Linked DNA regions of Homo sapiens: regions 1, 3, 4, 5 and 6 are each linked to region 2. The links are contacts of gene promoters, found by promoter capture Hi-C in blood cells and fetal thymus (Javierre and others, 2016). All regions are on one chromosome and are shown on one strand. The core of a region is centred on a gene start or on the middle of the fragment in contact, and the rest is flanking DNA. Distances in the headings are between cores, read along the strand shown. Region 1 has its middle 42 kb from the start of CNNM1. Region 2 holds the start of HPS1 (HPS1 biogenesis of lysosomal organelles complex 3 subunit 1). Region 3 overlaps CNNM1 (cyclin and CBS domain divalent metal cation transport mediator 1). Region 4 overlaps CNNM1 (cyclin and CBS domain divalent metal cation transport mediator 1). Region 5 overlaps HPSE2 (heparanase 2 (inactive)). Region 6 overlaps GOT1-DT (GOT1 divergent transcript).

Region 1 (3,814 bases), core at 505-3,004, 840 kb before region 2:
TATTAGAAATAATATTTTTTGCAGCCACGTAAATTGTTTCATCTTCTATTTATGATTTAGTTTAAGTACTACAGATTTTTTAGAGACTTTACCTTATTTACGCAACCTGAAATTTTGCAATCTGTTGCACTGTGGATGGTTTCAAACATCAGCTGCCTCTCAGTCCATCTTTAGGCACTCCTGATGCTTCTTAAATTGCCTCTCCTATGACCCAAGTCTCCATTTTTTGTCACTTCTTACAGGGACGCAGAATGTTACCATGTGAAAAAATCTTTTGGGGCTTGGTAAAACAGAAGACAGTGACCATGGCCCAATTTAATTATATTAGATTTTTAGCTGGTATTTTAATGATTACTAATACTATGAAAATATTCACAGCTAAACTATATAAGTATACCATAATTAAATTTCTTTCTTACACAAATTTTATTTTCCTTAGGGTTGAGAATTACCTGGCTGATTTTTAAATGCATCTATCATTATTTCATCCCAGATTCTCCATTATGTTTCCTCAATTCACTCAAACATATAATCTACCAGTTTTCATTCTTTTTTTTTTTTTTTTTTTTTGCTTGAGGCTGTCCCTCTTGCAGCTCTTTCATGTCTTTTTCCAATCTGGATTGATTGTTCTCTAGGCTGCTGTACAGCTGTATAGTTCCCAGTGTCCCCCTTCACCATTACCTTGGGTTCCCTTTGCTTTTCTCCTGTGTTGAATTCCCTGGTTCCTGGATCCCATGTATTTTTCCTCATTTCATTCCCTCATTTTGGTGGAAAGGAGATAAACTTTTCATCAGTTATATGTCTTATTTTAGCCATCCTTCTCCTCCTCCTTCTCTGCCTTTTACTCTTTTTCAGAATTTACACCTTCTTTTTATTCTGGGATAATTAAATTCTAAAAGCTTAGAACTTCAAGATACCTAGTTGCTTTTGTATTAAAGTGGCAGAAGTCTTTTGTATCATGTACATAAATATATACAACATAAAATCACACATGGAACTTATGTGTAAGCTATCGTGGTAGAGCTTAACAGAACCATCCACCGTGACCCTACCAGTTCAACATCATGTTCTAGATTTTCTTGCTCAGGGCTCCCTGGAACACAATTTAAAGAACACGATGTAATCTAGCCTATCCCTTAGATTTTAGGAATGGGGAAACTGAAGCCCTGAGAAAGGACTTACCTAGGGTCTTAACTTATTTCCTTCACTCTCACTCTCATCATGTTAAATTTCTCAACTTACTGTGAACCCTATTCTTACATTTTTTCAACTCAAATTATTACGTCAGTTCTACCTGTAAAATTCAAAATATGACATGACCTAACCCCTTTAGCTACAGCTTCTAGAAGAATCTAACCTCATGCTGTCTTAATCCAATGACTAGTGTTCCACAACATTTCTTTCTTTTTTGACTTGGGTTTAGGATCCCCTACCAGAAGCCATTTTTAGTATAAACTATTTTTACTCCTCAGTAACTAGCTTTCTTATTTACCAGTTATTAAAGATAAGCAACTTTGGCAAAGTAATGGCTGAATGAGCTTGAGACATCAAAATATACATCTCTACATTGAGATATGAATGCTATTGATTTTCAGACTCCCTTGTTTTAAAGTGAACCACCTAGGGAAAAATTTCCATTTTCTTAAGGTAAATGTTTGAAGTTGGTGTGATAATCCTGGAGGTGTACTGCTCAGATCTCCATTTAAGAGGATCTGCTGCAAGAAACATAGCTGGATGACTCCAGATGTTCACACCAGACCATATTCTCTTCACATTGTCTGTGATGTTCACTCCAAGCCACACACCCCTGCCACCCTCACACCCACTGCTGCTCCCAGCCAATGACTGAGCTCAGCTGGTTTACTAGGTTGGGCCATTTCTGCTCAACTGGGACTCCTCTGATGGCAGTCTTTGCTTGGACACTCCATGTTGGCCTGGTGAAGACTTTCTCTGAGCTGTGCTCTAGCTTGAGGTTCTTCCTGCCCAGTCCTCATTCCTTCTCTTCTTTCACAATTGTCATACCTAATCATAACTTGAAGGCTCTCCTCATTTATTCCTGCTGCTTCTCTCCTTGATCCTTCGTGGGCATTTCCCTAAGTAAATCTCTTGGATGTCTGATTCCTTCTTGGCATTTGCTTTTCAGAGGACCTGAACCAACACGTTTGATATTTGCAGGATTAGCTCTAAGATAATTCAACAAACATTTAATGAATTCTGCTCTAGGGAAGGTTCTGTACTAGATGCTGGAGATACAAAGATAAATGAAACAAATCTCTGCTATTATGTTGTTTGTGAGAGGTATTTAGCGATCCCCAAGTATAGGATAGTGATTAAGAGGGTGAATTTCAAGTTCAAATCTATGCATCACTGCTTACTGCAAGCTCTCTAAGCATCATTCTTCTTATTCAAAAAATGGGATGATAAAAGTATCTATCTTACAGTGTTACAGTGAGAATTAAATGAGAGACTATCCTATTAAGCAGTTTGCACAGTTCCAAGCATTTAACAGTACTCAAGGAATACTGGTTGGTATCAACATTAATGTAATGGGATAAGTCTTAAATATTTTGTTTTTTAACACATTAATTTTTTTCATTTATAAAGCTTTTTTATTGTGATGAAATATACATAACAGAAAATTTTCATTTTAACAATTTTTAAGTGTATAATTCAATGTCATTATATTCACAATGTCATACAGTCATCACCATTATTTCCAAAACTTTTTCATCACCCCATACTGAAAGTCTTTACCTATTAAGCACTAACCCTCATCGCCCACTTTCCCCAGCCCCTGGTGACCACTAATCTATTTTCTGTCTCTATGAATTTGCTCATTCTAGATATTTCATATAAGTGGAATCATACAATATTTGTCCTTTTATGTCTGGCTTGTTTTGCTTAGTGTGTTTTCAAGGTTCATTCATTTTTATGGCTGACTATTCCATTGTGTACATATATAAGATTTTATTTATCCATTCATCTGATGATAGACAACGTGGATCATATTCACCTTCTAGGTTATTGTGAATAATGCTGCTGTGGGCATTCATGTAGAAGTATTTGAGTCCATCTGTTCAATTATTTGGATATATAACAAGTGGAATTGTTGGGTCATATTGTTGGTAATTCCACGTTTAATTTTTTGAGGAACTGCCAAGCTGTTTCCACAGCAGCTGTGTAATTTCACGTTCCCATTAGCTATGTATGAGGATTCTGATTTCTCTACATCCTCAGCAATATTTCTTCTCTCTCTCTCTCACTTTTGTTATAGCCAACCTAGTGCATGTGAAGTGGTGTCTCATTGTGGTTTTGATTTGCATTTCCTAATGACTAATGATTGGAATACGTTTTCATGTGCCTGCTGATTGTGTGTGTATATATATATAATTTTGAGACAGGGTCTTGCTCTATTCCCCAGGCTGGAGTGCAGTGGTGCAAACTCAGCTCACTTCAACCTCTGCCTCCTGGGTTCACATGATCCTCCCACCTCAGTTTCCAGAGTAGCTGGGATTATAGGCATGTGCCACCATACCTGGCTAATTTTTGTATTTTTTGTAGAGACGGGATCTCACCATGTTGCCCAGGCTGATCTTGAACTCCTGGCTGCAATCCACCCACCTTGGCCTCCCAAAGTGCTGGGATTACAGGTGTGAGCCACTGCACACCCAGCCTCATTTATATATTTTCTTTGGAGAAGTGTCTATTCAAGTCCATCACCCATTTTATCCTTCCTTCCTCCATCCCTCACCTTTCCCTTCCCCTCCCTCCTCCCTTCCTCCCCTCCCTCCCTCCACCCTACTCCTTCCCTTTC
Region 2 (3,939 bases), core at 1,103-3,602:
AATTTTAAAGAAAATAGAAAATAGCAAGTGTTGACAAAGATGTGGGTAAACTGGAACACTTGTTCCAGGTTGGGAATGTAAAATGATGCAGCTGCTGTGGAAAACAGTATGGTAGTTCCTTAAAAAATTAAAAATAGAATTACCATATGATCTAGCAGTTTCTCTTCTGGGTATATGCCCAAAAGAATTGAAAGCAGAGTCTCAAAGAGATATTTGTACACTCATGTTCATAATGGCCTTATTCACAATGGATGTAACCCAATTGTCCATCAGCAGATAAATGGATAAGCAAAATGTAGTATATACAGACTATAGAGTATTATTTAGGCTTAAAAATAAAGAAAAAAGGAAGGAATTCTCACATATGCTACAACATGAATGCACCTTGAGAATATTATGCTAAGTGAAATAAGCCAGTCATAAAAAGACAAATACTGTATGATTCTACTTATATGAGGTACTTAGAGTAGTCAAATTCATAGAGACAGAAAGTAACATTGTGGTTGCTATGAGGAGGAATGAAGAATTGTTGTTGTTGTTGTTTTTGTTGTTGTTTTTGAGATGGGAGTCTCGCTCCGTTGCCCAGGCTGGAGTGCAGTGGCATGATCTTGGCTCACTGCAACCTCTGCCTCCTTGGTACCAGCAATTCTCCTGACTCAGCCTCCTGAGTCACTGGGACTACAGCTGTGTGCCACCACACCCTGCTAATTTTGTATTTTTAGTAGAGACAGGGTTTCACCATGTTGGCTAGGGTGACCTCAAACTCCTGACTTTGTGATCCGCCCGCCTTGACCTCCCAAAGTGTTGGGATTACAGGTGTGAGCCACCACACCCGGCCAGCATTATTGCTTAATGGATATAGTTTCAGTTTTAAAAGATGAAAAGAGCTGTGGAGATGGATGGTGGTGATGGCTGCATAGCATTAGGAATGTAGTTAATACCACTGAACAATACACTTAAAATGCTTAATGATCAATTTTACATTATATGTATTTTACCACAAACAAATTTGAAAAAAAGAAACATGTTGACACAAAAAACCCGTACATAACTAAAAAATAGATTATATTGGATTACATAAAAATGTAAAACTTTGGTGCTACAAATGATACCACTAAGAAAGTGAAAAGACAAGCCACATAATGGGAAAAAAACTTTTGCAAATCAAGTATCTGATAAGGGGCTTGTAACCAGAGCATATAAAGAACTCTTACAACTCAATAATAAAGACAATTTAAAAATGGATAAAGGATTTGAATAGACATTTCTCCAGAGAAGGTACACAAATAGGCAAAAAGCACATGAAAAGATGCCGAACGTCAGGGAAGTGCAAATAAAATCACAAGACACCACTCCACGCTGGGTTACTATACTTAAAAAAAAAAAAATCAACAATAACAAGCATTGGTGAGGATGTGGAGAAATCAGAATCCTCATACATTGCAGTTGGGAAATGGAAATTACCAGTAGGGGAATGAATAAGTAAATAACAGCATATCCATTTGATGGAATTCATTCGACCACTGAAAGCATAGTGAGTGAACGATCTCAACGGTGGGCTGAGCAAAGAGATGCGTGTGGCAGGGCTATGTGCTGTAGATGGGGAGTTGGAAGAATTTGCCCTAAGGTGGGCTGGAAGGGGTGGGTAGTGGGTTGGGGGGAGTGATGCTCTCTTTGATCTGCAGGTGGTGGAAGTATTGATTCTTAGCCTCTGCCTTTCCCCCAAGAGATGCTCAATCTACTATATCCCCAGCCAGTTCTTGCAACCCATACCTTGCTGGGCTGGGCTCAAAGCTCCCAGGTGGCACCCAGGCACTGAGGGGTGGACTGTTCGGGGATTTAGGCCCTTCCAGAGCGCCCCCTCCACTTCCAGGCACCCCCAATACACATACGATTTTTTAAAATAAATATTGCAAACATAGGTTCAACACAAAACTCCTAATGTGCACTCCACTCCCAAAATAGATTGAGAACTCCTATAAATTCCAGCGTTGGCACTCTGGGGGCAACTGAGCCCTTCTGTGCGCTATGTCACCTCCCCAAAGGTCAGGGAGAGCAGTCACAAAAGGACAGCTCTAGCCCCAGAACTTCAGTTCATTAGGCAAAGCCTGAGGTTCCGGGGCATGGGGAGGAGAGAAGGGATCAGCTGAGGAGCCAGGAAACCTGGGTTCTGAGCCTGGTTCGGACCCTCAGCAAGTTATTTCTTCTCTCTGCGCCTCCGTTTCCTCTTCTGTAAAATGGGGCATGGGCAAGGCCTGGCAGGGGCGGGGCTCGAACCCGCGGAAGGCGACGGCGGCTCCGGCCCCTCCCGGGGCGGGCGGTCACGTGCGCGATCACGCGGTCCTACCCGGAAGCGCGCCCGGGCTCCTGCAGGCGGGGCGCTGTGCGCGCCGCGATCCGGTACGTGGGCCTCCGGGCTGTCCCCTCTGGGGGCGGCGATCCTCCCTCCGGAGCCCCCCTTCAACCCTCCCGGAAGTGAGGTAGGGTCCCTAGGGGTCCCGGAGCGGGCCCACTCCTAGCCTCACCCACTCCGGGCGTGTGGCCGTGGGCCGGTCGCTTCCTCGCTCGGGGCCAAAGTTCCTCAGCCGTGAAGAGGGGTGGATGTCACAAGTCAAGCCTCCTTCCCAGGGTGGCCGTGAGGTTCGGGGGTGGGGGGAGGTGGGGATTTGGGGTGAAACTGGACAGAAACTGGCGTGCTAGGCAAACGGGAGCCCCGCGGCGGCGAACTGCTGACTCGCTCTCTCCAGAGACTCAGGGGCAGGGCCGGGCTCCGAAGGTGTGGGACCCCAGAAGGAGCTGCTGAAGACGGGACCAAGGGCCACAGGGAGGTTTGCTGGGGTCCAGATGGTGAAAGTGGGCGCTGGGGGTCGCCCCAGGTTGGCCCCCCGCCATCTGGAGCTCCTTTCGTCAGTGAGTCCCCTCCGAGTTCCCTTTCTAGGGCAAGATAGCGAGGTGAAGCGGAAGTCTCAGTGTGACACCGGCGAGGTTCTCTTCCCAGCAGCCTTTGGGAAGCATCCCCCTGTTTCGGGAATATGGCATTCGGGCCAATCATGTGGGTGATGGAGCCCGTCTCAGGGTTCGGCTGCTAAAGGCCGAACTCGTAACAGCAGTCTCTGTGGCGGGTAGTCACTTGCCTCTTACTGGCTCACAGTGCTTGACTTCCTAATTAAGTTTTCTGTTGTTCCTGCCCTCTATTCAAATATGAATGATTCCGGAACCAGATTGATTAATCCTGTTATTTGAAGAAGGGAAGCTGGGAAATAGGAATAATGATCCCCACACCTATGTAAGAACGCAGTTTGCTAAGGTTACTTTGCAGCTTGCCTGGTCACTCCCATGATCTAACCCTGTAGGGAGGTAGAGTAGGGGATGTTGCTCTGTTTCTCCGCAGGAGTTTGAGGCTCAGAGAGGTTTATGGGACTTGGCAAAGCCAAAACTAGAACCTGGTCCCAGATGCCTTTCCTGTTAGTTTCCTTCCATTCATCGTATCATCCCAGGATCCCCACTCCCTTCACCGGGACTGCATCCTCACCACCTGGGATGTGCTATGCTGTCTCCCGTCAGTCACTCCTAGCAAGCTCCCTGGGGCTGCTTGGGGAGCTCTGAGTGACCCGCAGAAGTGAGAGCACTTCATGGGAACAAAGGAGGAAGGAACAAAAGTGGGCACCTGCTCTGTGCAAAGGGCTGTGCTGGCCGGGTTCCTATTCTCCATTATGGGAGGTGAGGGGCAGGATCCCAGATATGTTCTTAGCAGACTGCCTCAGGGCCTGGAGAGACCAGGGACCACGCAGCCCTTCTCCAGCTTGTCCTTTCTCAACGGGCAGCAGTCAAGACCAGGGCATCTGCCTGCCCTCATATTCTCTCTGTTTTAAGCATTTGCAGGACCAGGGATGCTGTGCTGCTCTCCCATGAGCCAGTCACCGAGTCGGTCTGCTGCAG
Region 3 (4,395 bases), core at 1,315-3,814, 950 kb before region 2:
GGACAAAATAGCGCCTTTTGTTTTGCTTCTCTCTGTTAAGGGGAAAGAAGTAAAGCTGTAATTGTCATATAATTGCTGAGCCTCCACTGCTTTAAGGATCCCCTCTGCTCTGATTATGTCTTCTTTTGGTTTTCAACAGCCAAGCAGGTTGAGTATCTGGTCAATGAAAAGCACATCTACCTGCTGCCAAGTGGTCGAATCAACGTGAGTGGCTTAACCACCAAAAATCTAGATTACGTGGCCACCTCCATCCATGAAGCAGTCACCAAAATCCAGTGAAGAAACACCACCCGTCCAGTACCACCAAAGTAGTTCTCTGTCATGTGTGTTCCCTGCCTGCACAAACCTACATGTACATACCATGGATTAGAGACACTTGCAGGACTGAAAGGCTGCTCTGGTGAGGCAGCCTCTGTTTAAACCGGCCCCACATGAAGAGAACATCCCTTGAGACGAATTTGGAGACTGGGATTAGAGCCTTTGGAGGTCAAAGCAAATTAAGATTTTTATTTAAGAATAAAAGAGTACTTTGATCATGAGACATAGGTATCTTGTCCCTCTCACTAAAAAGGAGTGTTGTGTGTGGCGGCCACGTGCTTCTATGTGGTGTTTGACTCTGTACAAATTCTAGTCCCAAAGATCAAGTTGTCTGAAGGAGCCAAAGTGTGAATGTGGGTGTCGGCTGCGGCATTAAATTCATCATCTCAACCCAGAGTGTCTGGTCTCCCTGCTCTTTCTGCATGGTTGTGTCCCTAGTCCTAAGCTTTGGTTCTTTAGGGTGACTGTGGTAAGAAGGATATTTAATCATGACATGCACGGACACGTACATATTTAACTGAAACAAGTTTTACCAAACAGTATTTACTCGTGATGTGCGTAGTGCATTCTGATATTTTTGAGCCATTCTATTGTGTTCTACTTCACCTAAAAAAATAAAATAAAAATGTTGATCAAGACATGGAGTTGATTTTATGACCACTAATGGGTTGTGACCCACAGTTTAAAATGAATGCTTTAGAGGGTTTTACTAGTGGCTAAAGGAAAAACTACAATGTGTTCTTACAGTATAGCTTCCTTCAGTGAACTCACCATATAACTCCCTGGTGATTTTGCGGGCTTGTCATTTGGAGGCCAGCTGTCTTATGTTACTTAAGAAACTGGACTTCTTGGACTGTGAGAGGAGATGACATCACTCAGGTTGATTATAGAACATCAGCCCGTTCCCTGCTGTCAGAGTCCCTCCTGGTTTATTGAAACAGAACCACAAAAACATACATCACAATTTCCAGAGTCCAAGGGCCGCTCCAAATGGCCATTTTGTAGAATTTGGTGGGGTTTGATGTTACTTAACACAAGAGGTCTATTAATTGGAGTTTTTAAGTATTTAAAGTTAATTCTTGTGATTTTAATAGGATCTGCCACTTTCTAGGACTCATTTGGGTTGTTAGAAAATCCTGCAGTCCTGAGGGATGACTGGGGCCTCAGAAGTCATCAAGTCCTGCCTCTCCGCCAGTGAAATAGTCTCTCCATATTGTCTCTGACTCATCCATTTCAACTGGTGGGGTGGTAGTGGTGATGGATTCTTTAAATACCTGGTGAGGCATCCCCTTCTGCTGGTGGGGCCTCTTAATTAAAAAAAAAGAGGCTCATTTACCTTTTGCTCACGGTAAAAGTTCATCTACCTTGAACCAGAATTTGATCTTTGTTCCACTCCCCTGCCCCTCCTTTCCTTCCTTTAAACCACAGATAGTAAATCTACTGGCACTTCTAATCTACCACCTTTCAAATATTTGAAAGTAGCAGTTGTCATTCCTTGTTTACACTTTTCCACATGAACTGCCTCTCCCCCACCACTTTTGTTTCTGCACAGGATGTGGTTTCCAGATCCTTCCCTGTCTGGCTGGAGCCCCAGGAGTTCTTCAGAGGACACTCACTCTGCCAGTGTGTGGTTGGGCTGGTGGAAGTTCATGAGTGAATGTGATTAGATGCCCTCCCACCCATCTCTTCACAGCTTTCTGAACATATCAGTCTTTGTTCTCCTCCCAATGTAAAGATGCTTGTTGTTAGTAAGGGAAGGCAGCCAACAGAGAAGTCGAATGATTCTACCTTCTGTCAATCTGCCATTCTCTCCAAACGCTTTCAACCACTCATTCTCCATGGGGACGATACTGCCTCCATGGGGACGAAAATTGGCTCTCTGGGGCAAAAAAAAAAAAAGCCTGAAATACTAAAATGTTGCCTTCCAAAGTGCAATCCTACCTGACCATCTTATTAGTATTTAATTTCTCTTGTTAGGGAAAATTAAAATTTTCTCTTTAGGGGGCTGCCAAAACCATTAAAGATAAACACATCTTTAAATCTAAGTGACAGTACCAAAGTGCTCAAATGTTTTTAGCCTTGAAAAAAGCCCATCTCAATGGGAATCTGGCCTTCTTCTATTCCGACAGATATGTTGGTTGGTGTGGTTCCCACTGCGTTCACCTGAAAAAGGGCTGTGAGTTTGGGAAGCCGGCAGGACTCCTCAGGCCTCTGACATGCCAGTGAACTTCAGAGGTGGGATTGTTTCACCAATTTTGCTCACTCAAGAGCAGGGCACTCCAACCTCCAGGCTCTGCCAGTTCCCAGGTGTGTAACCGTGAGCAAGAAGACAGTAACCTTGCAGACAGTAACCCCTCCTCCACAGGGTGGTTGAGAAAGAAATGAGCTAATGGGTACTTAACAGAATACTTGGAACATAAAGCCCTTGGCAAAATAGTTGTTTCCATTATTTATTATTACCGTTAGTGAAATGAATAGCCTCTACTGAGGTTCCTGAGAAGAATCTTAAGAGGTTTTGGCATAGGCCCCTGATCCTCCTGTTTGCTTTGAGAAATGAGTAGTAGGTGTCAGATTTCAGCCTTCCTTCCACACAGGTATTATATGCCCAAACACATCTTCCCACCTGCCTGGCTGTTCCCTCCCTCCAGCATCGGCTTAAAACTGACCAACAGGCCTGGCCCATTCTTGTGTTCCGTTCCCTAGCCTTTGGTTGCAAACTGCCAGAGTCATGCCACTTGGACTCCTTTCTGAAGGTTCTGCAGAAGCGAGCTAGTGTGACCAACATTCTGTCTCAGGGGCTTGTCTGGGTTTAGCCCCCAAGACCCTGAATTTGGACGGCACCCAGCACAGCACCTCACCCATCACATGGGTTCAGCAAATGCCAGCCCTTCTCACTGTCGTCTTAGTTCCTTCCTCGTCTTTATGCATACTGGCTTCTCATTTGGGTTTTACTTCTCATTTCTGGCATTCACTCCTGCAAAATCTTACCATCTGGCCTCCCAAAGTAGTGTGCCAAGGCTTCCCCGTGACCTCACCGCAGCCTCACACCTGGCCCGGAGCGGCATGCCTCTTCAGGCAGGTGGTGCACAGGTGAGATCATCACACGTGGGCATCACTCAACCTGCATCTCAAATGAAGCCACGTCAGAAGATTCCAGGGGCAAGGAAAACAGCCACATTCCAGGAAAGGCATTTTCATTTTATTTAAAAATTATTTACAATTTATTAAGCCTTCATAAATGCTTTATTTTAAAATCTTTTTTTTAAACTTTTTTTTTAACCTGAAGAAAATCTTTGTGGGGTGGGGGTATATAGGGAGGGGAGTGGTGACAGGCTCCATAGGGATTTTGCAAAGGGATGGGTGTAATGCAACAGCAGTGGCTTGAGCCTGGTGGCCTCAGGTGATGAAGACCAGCCAGGCAGGCACCCCGGGGCCAGTGGTCAGCTGGGCAAGAAGCCTGCATGATGGTAGTTCTTGTTCAAAACTCACCATTTATTGGTTTGGGTCTAAGTACCCAACATTGAGGGCTGACACTTCGCCTGTTCCTACCAGGCAAGAGCAGGTGTTGGGACTGGATGACTGTGAAGTTATCTACGAGAAGTCATGCACTGCTGAGCCTCAGGCCAGGCCAGGCAAGGGGTGTGGTGAAGTCAATAATCATTGCTGGAAAAGGCTTCTCTAGCTCCAAAGTCTTTACTTCCACACGCTGTGGCCCTCCTGTCTGCAACACCTGCTCTGGGTTGTTGGGGAAGAGGGGACAAAGTTATGTGGGGGTGTTGGTTGTACAATACTCTAGGGTGTGCCGAGAATTTCTGAGGACTTCCACTTCTTGGTGGGTGCCAGCCTTCCCCATCAATTGATGGACATTTGAAAAGACCACTTATGATTAAAAACCTGTCTCGAACTGCCCAGTATCCACTTCACTCTGCATTGCAGAAACGCTGGGCTGAAAGTTCCACTATTTAAAATAGTAGTGTTTTTTTTTGTTTGTCTGTTTGTTTTAACTCTTTGTAGGTCTGAGACCTTTGAGAACCTTATGAAAGCTTTAATGCTCTGGAAAAAACATACAAGAATAAA
Region 4 (3,856 bases), core at 269-2,768, 920 kb before region 2:
GTAATTCCCCTTGGCATATCCTAAGAGCACAGAGGCACAGCTTGGGGGAGTGAAGCGAGGAGGAAAATCCTAAGTATAATGCAAGGAGGTCTGGAAGGAGACAGATCAAACAGTATGATATGTGACACCAACCCGGGACCTGTCAGCAGGCAGCAGGCCAAGCAACCAACCCATCCCTTGCCCACTCTTGCTCTTGCATCAGACCCTCAGGTTGGCTCAGGTGTAACCGGGTGATGGGGAGCAGGGTTTTCTGCTCTGTGAAATTGTGGCAGACCTCATTCCTGCAGCCTTTGAGTGGTCAGTCTCTAACAGATATCTGTCCTGGGTTGGCTACTTGGATTGCTGAGGTTTGGGTGGGGAAGGCACTAGGGTAAAATTGGGGGCAGGGTGGCAAAGGGTATGGAAGAGGACTTCACACTGTAATCGGGGCTGGATGGAATCTCCTCTCCTTCTGTAGTAATAGTCAGGGGCCCTGAAAATCTATACACAGCAGCTCTGGGACTCTTGCTTCATTTGTGACACCTGTATCCAGGGAGCCTTCACAACCCTATCCTGGAATCAGACCCCAAGATACAGAAGTAGAATGCTAAGCTCCCATTTTCCCTATGAGGATTTGAGGAAAAAGGAGGGTTCAGGGGTTGCCTGCCTACATCTTTTGTACCATCAGTGAGGGATGAGGGGGAATGGCCTACTTTGGTCTGACTGTGATTGTGCCGTGGGCCATCTCTGTTCTCCAAAATGGATGAGGAAGCTTAATTACATAGACCTGTAAGAGTACCAACTAGAATTATTAAAATTCATTATACTGGGGCAATATTTAGCATCAGACAACCGAACACCAAAGCCAGCTGTCTGTCAAAACTACGATGTGAACTCTAAGCCCAAGTTAGGATCCCAGATGAACTCATTCACTTTACACGGAGCTTTAATGGTTCCCAAATGTTCATCACACAAGAGCCAACCCGAAGGAATATTTCCACTTACCACATTTTGCAAAGTAGAAATATTATTTTTAGAGATTCCCTGTATATTCAAGCAGAAAACTGTCATTATTGATCTCAGTGCACATTATGAATAGATAACCGAGCACTGAAAAAGAACCGTTGGTTCCAAAGTCTCTGTCTCTGTGCTTTTGTGGATTTGAAAGGACTGTTATGGGGAATTCAAAATTATCTCCACCACCAGGAGAAGAAAGAAGGAGTGAATATGGGGAAAGGGAATGCTAATTGCAGTGGGGCTGTGTACTTTCAGGGGAAACCCCTGATCAGAAGTTTCATTTTTAAATGAAAGCACCTGCCAAGTTGGTTAACCACACCACAACCTGGAGGTAATCTGTGAACCACTGTGTTCTTATTTCAAACTAAGGCTCAAATAGAAAGAGACTCCCTATGGATAATGATGGCAATATTTGGTGCAGAGACCCCTAGCCTCAATCTAGTGCGAGCACCAGATTCGTAATTAGCACTGCTTTCAAAATGCAAATAAATCACAGCCCTCTAGGGGGCATAAAATGTCTATATTCAGAGGTACAGCAAGGTCCCAGGCAGTAGGTGGAGAGCAGGATCTAAGACTTAGATTCCAGTCCTTGTCCCTCTGCCTACCTAATACACATACAACACTGACTGACTTTCTCAGAACCTGTTTTTTAATCTGTTGTTTTTCAATGACTATTCCTGCCTATCTCCCAAAGTGATTGTGGGGAGTCAAATCAGACAATGACAATTCTTTCTTAGACTTCAAGACCCTACTAATCTCTAGGATTTATTTTCCTCCCATATAAGATACGGTTGAGATTTAGCATATATGTAAATTAATGTATCTGGATCAGAAATCAATATTTCCACTTAGCACATTTTGCAAAGTAAAAAAAATTTTTAGGTACTTTGGTATATTCTAGGAGAAAATGGCATCATTGTTGATCTCAATGCACACTATGAATGGACGATCGAGCACTGAATAAGAGCCCTTGGTTCCAAAGTCTGTGCTTACAGGGCCAGAAGTTACCTGGAACTTCTTTCTACAAAAATCCCAGACCTCTGAGGCTACTTCTTTTAATGATTTGGAACAAAAGCAAGAGTGACAGAGGAAATACCACAGAATAGGTCCTGTGGATGTCAGCTGATCACTGGGAAGGCACAGTGATTAGCTCTAGATAGAGACCAGACACAAGGTGGAGAGGAATAAGCCAAAGGAGAAACTAGGCATTCCCTACCTCTGGTTTTCTCCCACTGTACCCACCATTGCTCCACCCTGCAGAGTTAAACCAAGGGTGGGAATAAGCTTACCTCTTTATGGGTAGGGTTTCCATTGTGTTGACACTAATCTCCTGTTGTGTTGAATATCCACAGTCATGGAAAAGGGGGGAAAGTTGAAAATACTCTCAGGGGCACATGACACCACCCAGAGTTGGATCAGAAGTCTCAGCACTTCCTGGGGGTTCTGCACAGCAGGAGGGAATCACTTTCATCTCTGTCTGACATTGGGTTATCATGGACTTTATAATAATCAATACAGATGAACTAGAATTAACCTTCCTTTAACTGGGAAGTTACAATTAACTAGGTCATCTGGTTAACTGAAGGTTAATTAAAAAGGAAAACACATCCTCGCTTTGATCTTTTGGGCTGAAAGTCTTTTAAAATGTGCATCTCCCCTTTCCTCTGAACCTTCACAGCACACTCTTGGCATTCACCAAGATTCACTGCATGTGAAGGAACTTGAAGGTCCATCAAGTGGTCATTTCTAATTTTGCGGGCATGTAGGAGTAGACCATTTAGCTGGTGAGGGCACCAGATTGGCATTTCACATTGACTGTCCGATCCTGTAGTCATTATGAAGGCATGAGCTCTCACAAAGCAAGAAAAACTATTTCTTAGTGGAAAATCACCATCGAGAGAGAGAGAGAAAACTTTGGTGAAATTTGAGAAGGTGGTTAACTTATCTTGTATAGATCAACATGAGGACCAGATGGTTTTTGATGAAAAAAAGTGATTTTGGGAAAAAACAGAAGTCAACATAAATACTTCTGAGGTTGCAAATTGGAGGGTTTGAAGTCTCAAAACATGACCTTTTTTAAATGTTGAGGGTCTACTATATAGACAGAGAAACATAAGCGATTTCTCGATGACTGAGGATATGGTGGGGTCTTAGTATCATTACCCCAGCAACGTGATAAGGGATACAGATTTAGAGGGTAGAGGAAATTGGACTGTGTTCTAACTGCAGGGCAATTTAACAAATACATTCCTGGTTTAGTCATTACTTGCTCTATGAGCCCAAGAGAACAACCACTGGAGATGAAAACAAACGGTTGATCATTCAGATTTGTGGCATTCTACTCAGTCATTGAATCATTGTCTAGCTCTATGAGGAATTGTTACCCGATTAAAAAGAAACCCAGTGACTATTTCATTTATCAACAAAAGAGGTTAAACCTAATGAAAAGTTGTTTTGAAAGTTTTACATATAGCATCCTTTGTACGAGCAGAGCTAGTGAGCATATGATCATCACATAGTAACATTATTAGGAAGATGAGGACATGGAAGGAAAGAAAGGTAGAAAGAAAATAGGTAGAAATAAAGCACAGTATTCCACTATTCCTACTTCATTCATGCTGTACTCCTCATCCCTCCATTCTGTAGTCAGACAAATGAGGAAAAACTCACACTATCCCTCACCCCCACCATTTTTCCATGTGCATACACAGATACATTCCTGGGAGGTAAACTCACAAATGACACCACTGAACCAGCAATGCCTGGGTGGTATGTGCAAATGAGTGCTATTTGTGCAAAGTGCTATGCCTTAGTCACAGGAGTGCCTGTTGGAGTGATTAGTTCTCATGCAGGAAAGTGA
Region 5 (4,335 bases), core at 1,534-4,033, 780 kb before region 2:
CAGCATAAATGCTGAAAGGTAAAAGATAGTCTTTAACAGCACCTCCTATGGTAATTTGACCCAGAACCTTATAGCTCCCAGGGTCACTGTCAGCTCTGTGATCAGACATAAGAAGGGAGAATATTAATGGTTTTTCTGATATTAATGGTTTTTCTTCTTCCAATCCATTTGAACTACTTCCTCTTTAGTTTGTGGGAAAACTTGTAAGAGCCCCAGGAATTGCTGGGGGTGAGGGAGGGAGGAAAGGACCATTATAAGTTTAGAAATTGGTCTGTTTCTCCCAACTTTGTACCTAGGATTATGTTACACTGAGAACAATGAGATCTGTTTAAAATGAAGGCTACAATTTGTTTCCCTTTGTGAAAGGAGAAAGTGGGCATCATGGGGAGAAAAGAAATTGGCAGAAGGCAGTGCCCTGTAAAACTATATAAAATTAAAAAAAAAACATAAACGGAAAAGATCTAAGAGGTTACCTTCAGTCCTCTATCACGTTAGGGGCCAGTATAGGATCATTCCATATGGAATCCTTTTCTTGTTTTGTCCAACCTGGCATTAAATATCTCTAGGAATGTAGTTTTTCACCACTCATAGGGGAGAGAGTTCTTCTGTCCCATAAGCTTTTGCTGGGAAATTTCTCCTGAATTTTCCCTTTATAAGGATTTACAATTATTCCTGTTTGCATTTTTTAGACATCTATCTTCAAAATAATTTCTGCCTTTGGTGTGAGTGTTAGCTTAAAAAAAAATGTTTCCTCATAGCTGTTTTTTATCTAGACTACCTGGATCTAATTCTTTTAAAACTTTCTTTAAAGTCAGTCCTTCCAGACACTAATCTGTTTTATTGCTCCTAGCCGAACTCCTTTTGATTTATGTTTTCCTAGTAATAAGATGCTCTGAACTATATCAGTATTTGAGGCTTTAGCAGAGTTAAAGAGAATGAGAATGTCCTATTTCTGCCCTTTGAAGCTCACATATCCTTAAATTACCCATACTGTCTTTGTTGTTGCATGTTGCATTGCAGAATTCAAGGCAAAATGTTCTTGGTATAGTCTCAGCAATTTTGAAAACATTATGCTTCTGTTGTCCCTTTTCATCTAGTGATAACTGTTATCATCATGAGCATCTTAAAGTAATTAAGCCTTCTTAGGAAATGGTCCTGTAGTAAGCACTTGGGCATAAAGGCATCTTATTAAAAAATGTATTTACTTAGACGTAGTACAGAATAACAACATACATTTTGAGTAATAAGATATACCTACTGGCACATTATGAAACTGAATGATACAGTGAAGAGAAAATGGAATTTGGACTTAGGAAGGTTGCACTGCATGCCTGGCCCTATGACTTATGAATGTGTGGCCCAGGGCTTACTGTTTATAGCATGTGGATGATGATGATTACCTGCTGTACCTTGCTTCTCTGAAGGTTCTAAGAGGTAATGTTTGTAAGTTATTTTTTTGACTGCACAACACTATAAGAAAGGTAAGGATTCTTACATTCATTAAAGGCAACTTCAGCAAATTTCTAATATATATTTAATGTTTTAAAGTGGGATTAAGGAGTGAGTAAGATTTAATGAGACTGAAGCTTTTACAGAAGGCAGAAGGTAGATTTATGGAATTACCTGAGAGGATTGAGAGAATGTAAGGAGAATTATCTTTAAGGAACAGAGTTGAGAACCAAAGGTGGCTTTTGTTATGTACTAATGTTAAAATGAATGGATAGTTGTAGCATTGAGCAAAAAGCTTCCACTTTTCTGGTTAATCCGTTTATATTGCTACCCTGATAAGTTTTTTTTTTTTTTTCGATATGGAGTCTCCTCTTTTGCCCAGGCTAGAGGGCAGTGGCATTATCTTGATTTACTGCAATCTCTACCTCCCAGGTAGAGTGATTTTCGTGCCTCAGCCTCTTCAGTAGCTGGGATTACAGGTGTGCGTCACCATGCCTCGCTAATTTTTGTATTTTTAGTAGAGATGGGATTTCACCATGTTGGCCAGGCTGGTCTTGAACTCCTGACCTCAACTGATCTGCCCAGTTCAGCCTCCCCAAAGTGCTGGGATTACAGACATGAGCCACTGTGCCTGGCCCCGATGTGATTTTGTTGTTCCCCTTGTTTTCCCATGAATTAATAATGCAATTAACAACTCATGTGTCTTCTGTTTTCCAGATACTTTCTGAGCACATTAATGCAACTGTATTTTCTCTAACTTTGTAAAACCACTGTTTATGTATCACTTTGGGAGCTTCACTGGTTACTCCTTTAATGCAGTTAACTATTCTACTCTATGCTTAGGCACCTTGAATTATATACACAAATAGTGATGATGGAAGAAGTAAAAATAGAGTTGTTCTTTATACCCAAGGAATCTTACTGTTGCCTAACTTCCTTTTTGTTCTATGTAATGTTATGCTTTACCTGCTCTCAACAAGGAAATCTTGGGTTATTCTTCTGTTCTTAAGTTTATTTTTTTCCAGTCTTCCCCTCTTTGTATTGTATTCAATGTGATTTATTTGTATGCATGTTTTTTTAAGACCATAACTGCATCTTTAATGAAGATGTACACCATTTTTTAAATGTACATCAAAAGCCAGCTTAATATTTCTAAAATGTCATATTCATCATGTTGCTCTTTTGCTAAAAAACTATGGTTATTTTTGGATTGCTTACATAATATGTTCAAACTCCTCAACCTGACATTCAAAACCTTTCACATTTCAGTCTCAGCTTACTTTCACTACCCTGTGTTTCCATATACCTTTTATTACAGCCCAACTTACTTGATTGTTCACTGTCTTCTTAAAGCACCTTTATTATCTCAACCCCGTACCTTTGTTCAGTTACTATATGAATATGCATTGAATGTATTTCTCTTGGCTTAAGTCAGAGCTTATTCCATCTCACCTAGTTTTTGAAGGCCCATTGCAAATGTTCCTTATTTGCACAAAACTGTTCTTGAACAGGTCATTCCACAGTGATCTCTTCTTTCTTTAGACTGCTGTAGCTTTTACTCTTTATGCTTTTCTTTTGGCTCCTTCTGCCTTGTTTTGCCATTTAATTTTATGTATATATATATATATGTATATACACACACACACACACACACACACATATATACACATTCAACTTTATATATATATATAGACATTCAACTTTATATATATACATATATATATATATTTTACCTTTCCATCTAGAATGCAAATTCTTTATAGGAAGACACCGTATCTAATTATTGTATATCCACAATGTCTAGCCTTTATGACACATGGTAGATCTTCAGCAAATTTTCTTGGGTGTATGCTAGGTTAAAAGCACTGTGAAAGGCCCTGGGAAAATGGAGGTGACCAGTGGAGAAATGACTGAAGGTATACATGAAGATTCCATTCATTTTACACTTTCAACACATATTCCCATGCAGTCCATTCTTGATGCTTATTTTTTAATGGCATTCTTCATGATTTTAACCATGTGCTCTTTATCTGTGGTTGTCTAAGTTGTCTTTATTTTATGCTATGTGTTAAATTAACTTTATTACCCAGTTTAAAGCCTTGCACTAGAACTACATTTTAAAAAATTGTATCTGTTTCTACCTTGCCTTTACTTTTGCTTTTCTTTGTTAGTCTAATGTAATTTCTATTCCTGATTTTTCAATTCCTGGTGTAACAGTGCCTTTTCACAACTTTCAAATATCTTTTATCTTTATCTCCTGAAGATTTTTCTCTTCAGAGAGCTTCTGAATTCTAAATGATGAATGTGTGTATACTTTGTAAACTCTAAGACACTGTATAACTATTATTATTCTCTTTTCTCTAGGAAGCTTTTCCACAGATGAAGTAATTAATTCTTTTTCTTTTTAATCCCATTCTATCAATCAAGACTTATGGTGTAAGAACAGCACAACTGCCAAAATACATATTTGCCTTGAACTTATCCACTTTCTATTATCTCATTTTATTTCACATAATGGTTTTGAAATTCTGTTACATTTAATAAGTATGTACTGATTATCTACTCTCTGTTTAGTTTCATGCTAGACAAAGAATGGCAGAATATAAAATAAATAAAAGATGCTATCCCAAATCACCATTAGAACACAACAGTAATAATTGCTTTAGGCGAGATACCTTAATCAAGTGTTGGACTTAGCGGGTGGAACTTTAAAAGAGGATATTTGCATAGCCTTAAAGCATCTCCCTCATAATATTTATTAACTAATTATTGTGGTGGTTTTAATATATGTCCACAAATTCTCCACCTCTGGGAGGTGGAGCTTAATTCTTCTTCCCTTGAGTGTGACTTGGATTTAAAGAAGAGAGTCTCCAAAGGGGAAAATAG
Region 6 (3,863 bases), core at 1,218-3,717, 990 kb before region 2:
GGAGGCTGAGGTGGAAGGATTGCTTTTGCCCAGGAATTTGAGGCTGTGATAAGCTATGATCATGCCACTGCACTCCAGCCTGGCAACAGAGACTCCATCTTAAAACAAAAAAGCCTACAAAGCTTAGATACAAAAAAAAGATTCCTGATTGAAAAAGTTGGAGACTCATTGCTTTAGTTATGCAAAAGATTAAAATACACACAAACAACCTTACCCCTTTAAACAATTTTGACATTGTTATGTAATTCTCTGTAGGCCCTATGCCTCTTCCATTTCTAGAGCAAGATGTTTCTGTGTTTGGAACTTGGAAGTGTTGTCATGGAAATGAATATGATGTCAAAAAACAAATACAGTGATTTTATCATAGGAACAATGACCTCCCATGTTCTTTTTAAACACAACTATTAAACCAGTAATACACTAAAACATGATTTTAGAAATATGCTCTACCTCAAAGGGAAGTTGTGGGAATGATTTTTAGACATGATTTGATATCAAATATTCTGACTTTCTGGGGCAAAAGCATAATATAATTTCAAAAACAGTAACACTTTATGCATTCTTACATTTAGTAAGTTTTTACCGTGTGGGATGCAATATGGCACCATGGAGAAGTGACCCTGGAGGCAGACTGTGTTCATATCCCCACCATTGTCTAGCTGTGCCATCGTGGGCAAGTTACTTAATTGCTCTTTGCCTCAATTGCCTCATCTGTTAAATGGAATAATTAGACCACCTGCTTCACTTATACAACTTGAATGAGTTAGTGTTTGTGAAGAACTTAGAACAGTACCCAACATATAATAAGCACTATATAAATTCTTTTAAATAAACCTTTGTGATGTGTTAGACACGTATAAGTAGTGAACTAGTATCTATTAAACACTTGTTGCAGAACAAGTAATAATCATTAGGCAATTTTACATCTATTCTAATTAAAACTCGGATGCAAATATCCTCATTCATTCCTTCAGCCAATATTTATTGTCTGTTCGATGTCAGGAGCTGTTCTCGGTCTTTGGATACAGAATTGTGGGATTCATTTTTTTTCTTCAATTCTCAAGTTCAGGAGTACATGTGCAGGATGTGCAGGTTTGTTACATAGGTAAATGTGTGCCGTGGTGGTTTGCTGCATAGATCATCCTGTCACCTAGCTATTCAGCCAAGCATCCATTAGCTGTTCTTTCTGATGCCCTCCTTCCTCCTACTCCCACCCCTGACAGGCCCCAGTGTGTGTTATTCCCCTTCATGTATCCATGTGTTCTTCATCATTCAGCCCCACTTATGAGAACATGCAGTATTTGGCAGTATTTGGTTTTCTGTTCCTGCGTTAGTTTGCTACGGATAATGGGGATTCATATTTTTAAAAATCACTAATTTATTAACTAAGGAGCATCAATAGCTCCCCAGATTTCCAGATCAACTCTAAACTGTAGCACACCACATTGTTCTTTATTTAAAAATAGTTTCTCATAGTATCTGAAGTTTTAAGTTACTACACACATACATACTTTGCTTTGGAGAATTACTTTTTCCTGTCCTACTTCATTGTCATTGTTAGAAACTATCTAAATTTTCTATTCCTGTGAAGTGTCTCTCAAGCCTGTTTTTAAAAAATTTTTATTTATTTTTGTTGACTCAGCAGGTGACTTGTTACACACGCCTTAGTGGATTCGACTTCCATGGCCACTGTCCTGCTTCAAACCTGTCATTTTTATTTTCAATGAAAACTTGATTTTTTTTTAGGCTACAAAAATAATACATGTGTTTACTCTTTTTCTGTTAAAGCAAAGCTACAATGCATAACTGTATGCCTACATACCTATCTTTGAAAACTTGTATAAATTTCTTTAGGATAGATTCCTAGAGGAGAAATTGCTTGGTCAAATGGTATTATGTGCATTTTGACTGTTATTACCAAAATACAAGAAAAGGCTTTATTCATTGACAGTCTCCCCAATAGTGCATGTCATTGCTCTTTTCCCTCAACACTATTTTTTGAACATTTAAAATGTTTGTCAGTCTAATGGGTAAACATTGATAAATCAGCGTGGTTTCAATTTTATAATGAGGATGATTTTGGACATGTTTACTGGTTATTTGTATTTATTCTTTTCTGAATTTCTTTATATCCTAATTTTTCCACCAATACAATGAAGCTCTGACTATATAACAGATGTGACTAATAAGCATGTTGCAAATATTCTTCCATGTTATCACATATTTATTTATGGTGTCTATAGCCATGCAAAGTCAATTATTTTCTTTATAGCTTCTGAGATTGTGCCATGATTAGGAAAGTCTATTCTACCCTAATACTATGTTTCAAATATATTATTTTCCCTATATTGTTTAAAATATTTAAATCTTATATCCATCTATAATTTATTTTGTGCAAAGGAGAAACCAATTTTTTAATATATCAAACAAATCTGACATAATTGACGGTCACAACATCAGATGAAAATCTGTGCTTGAAAAGGTGCATTGTTTTTAAAAGAGTTAAATACAATCTTGCCATCTTGAGAGTTCCAGAACTCTCTACAGCCAATGCAAGGGCCTTTTCTAGGACAGTTTCCCGTCATACTCCAGGCCTCACACATACCGGCCAAATAAAAATGCTATTGTGATACCAATAGTGATTAGAAATAATACTTTATTTTCAGTAATTAACAAAAGTCAGATATCCTGAAAATCAAATAATTGGCAAGTGAGTTTATATTTTAACCTGATAATTTCCTTCTCATAAATGTTTAATTGTATGTTAGACATAAATCACTCAAGAAAGCATTTTATAGCGGCACCTTCTTTTCTGGCATCTATTTTCAGGTTTATAGAAAATGGCTAGGCCAGGCACAGTTGCTCATGCCTGTAATCCCACCACTTTGGGCTGCTGAGGCGGGTGGATCACTTGAGGTCTGGAGTTCTAGGCCAGTCTTGGCCAACATGGTAAAACACCATTTCTACTAAAAATACAAAAACTTGCCAGGCGTGGTGGCAGGCACATGTAATCCCAGCTACTCGGGAGGCTGAGGCAGGAGAATCACTTGAACCTGGGAGGCAGCAGTTGCAGTGAGCCAGGATGGTGCCACTGAACTCCAGCTTGGGCGACACAGCAAGACTCTGTCTCAAAAAAAAAGAATTCTGGATGAAAAAGTCCTAGAGATGTGTTGCACAACAATGTGCATATAGTAAACACTAATATACAGTATACTTAAAAATGATTAAGATGGTAAATACATGTTTTTTTACCACAATTTTAAAAAGAGTTAATTATGTCTTGTGGTTTATGTTTTTAATCAACCAACAAATATTTGAGTACCTAGATACCTTATTGTGGAGGATACCAAGAAGTGCAATTGATGGTTTCAGTTCTCAAGGAACTAGCAACCAAGTTGGGAGAAAATATTGAGTATACATAAAAGTTAATTAACAATCTCAGGCAATAGAATGATACCAAATGAGGAGAAGAGACATAAAGTCTTCTAGGCAGGAATCTTTTTGGGCTACAGTGATAGAAATATTCATTAGGTACTTAAATGGCTTTCAAACCATTTTAATACATATTTTCTAAATTGACCCTTTTAATAAATCTAGGAGGTATTATCTCCATTTAACAGATGAAATAAAAGCTCAGAGACTGTAATTTGCCCAACTTCACATGGCAGAGCTGGGAACTAGACTCAACGTCTTTCAGTGCTTATTCCTAGTGGGATTTATCTAAATTGGCATTGAAGATTTGCTGCCAAAAGAGTTTTCAGGGTTAAACAGAATCCAAATGTGCTAGGATTACCATGGTTTTGTATTTGCTAAAATTAGAATTATTCTGTCAGCTTGCTAAAGAGCATCAAGTAACTTTAGTA

Evidence for each region. Contacts are between HindIII fragments. The CHiCAGO score rates a contact against its expected background, and 5 or more counts as called.
Region 1: a fragment that was not itself captured here is called in contact with the fragment with the promoter of HPS1 in region 2 in 1 of 17 cell types (megakaryocytes); the score reaches 5.3 in megakaryocytes.
Region 3: a fragment that was not itself captured here is called in contact with the fragment with the promoter of HPS1 in region 2 in 1 of 17 cell types (naive CD8 T cells); the score reaches 6.4 in naive CD8 T cells.
Region 4: a fragment that was not itself captured here is called in contact with the fragment with the promoter of HPS1 in region 2 in 1 of 17 cell types (total CD4 T cells); the score reaches 5.1 in total CD4 T cells.
Region 5: a fragment that was not itself captured here is called in contact with the fragment with the promoter of HPS1 in region 2 in 1 of 17 cell types (total B cells); the score reaches 7.0 in total B cells.
Region 6: a contact is called between a fragment that was not itself captured here and the fragment with the promoter of HPS1 in region 2, in 1 of 17 cell types (total CD4 T cells). The highest score is 5.5, in total CD4 T cells.

Annotation. Positions count from the first base shown.
Region 1 is chr10:99,285,505-99,289,318 of GRCh38, reverse strand. It overlaps a transcript of HPSE2 not described here. Among named protein-coding and RNA genes, the nearest start is that of CNNM1, 42 kb to the left of the region's middle. The HindIII fragment of the contact is 1,705 bases long and covers 902-2,606 here.
Region 2 is chr10:98,445,348-98,449,286 of GRCh38, reverse strand. HPS1 (HPS1 biogenesis of lysosomal organelles complex 3 subunit 1) reads left to right here and starts at 2,352. Exons shown (of 20, transcript NM_000195.5): 1 at 2,352-2,480; 2 at 3,883-3,939. HPS1-AS1 (HPS1 antisense RNA 1) reads right to left here and starts at 2,966. Exons shown (of 3, transcript NR_134454.1): 1 at 2,530-2,966. RefSeq lists a silencer at 2,185-2,534. The HindIII fragment of the contact is 10,907 bases long and covers 1-3,939 here.
Region 3 is chr10:99,393,431-99,397,825 of GRCh38, reverse strand. CNNM1 (cyclin and CBS domain divalent metal cation transport mediator 1) reads right to left here. Exons shown (of 11, transcript NM_020348.3): 11 at 3,496-4,395. It overlaps GOT1 (glutamic-oxaloacetic transaminase 1), which reads left to right. Exons shown (of 9, transcript NM_002079.3): 9 at 140-956. The coding sequence ends at 279. Among named protein-coding and RNA genes, the nearest start is that of GOT1, 35 kb to the left of the region's middle. The HindIII fragment of the contact is 3,598 bases long and covers 766-4,363 here.
Region 4 is chr10:99,368,749-99,372,604 of GRCh38, reverse strand. All of the region lies in intron 6 of CNNM1 (cyclin and CBS domain divalent metal cation transport mediator 1), which reads right to left. Among named protein-coding and RNA genes, the nearest start is that of CNNM1, 41 kb to the right of the region's middle. The HindIII fragment of the contact is 1,529 bases long and covers 754-2,282 here.
Region 5 is chr10:99,226,643-99,230,977 of GRCh38, reverse strand. All of the region lies in intron 2 of HPSE2 (heparanase 2 (inactive)), which reads left to right. Among named protein-coding and RNA genes, the nearest start is that of HPSE2, 7.0 kb to the left of the region's middle. The HindIII fragment of the contact is 2,073 bases long and covers 1,747-3,819 here.
Region 6 is chr10:99,436,891-99,440,753 of GRCh38, reverse strand. All of the region lies in intron 3 of GOT1-DT (GOT1 divergent transcript), which reads right to left. Among named protein-coding and RNA genes, the nearest start is that of GOT1-DT, 7.9 kb to the right of the region's middle. The HindIII fragment of the contact is 4,686 bases long and covers 125-3,863 here.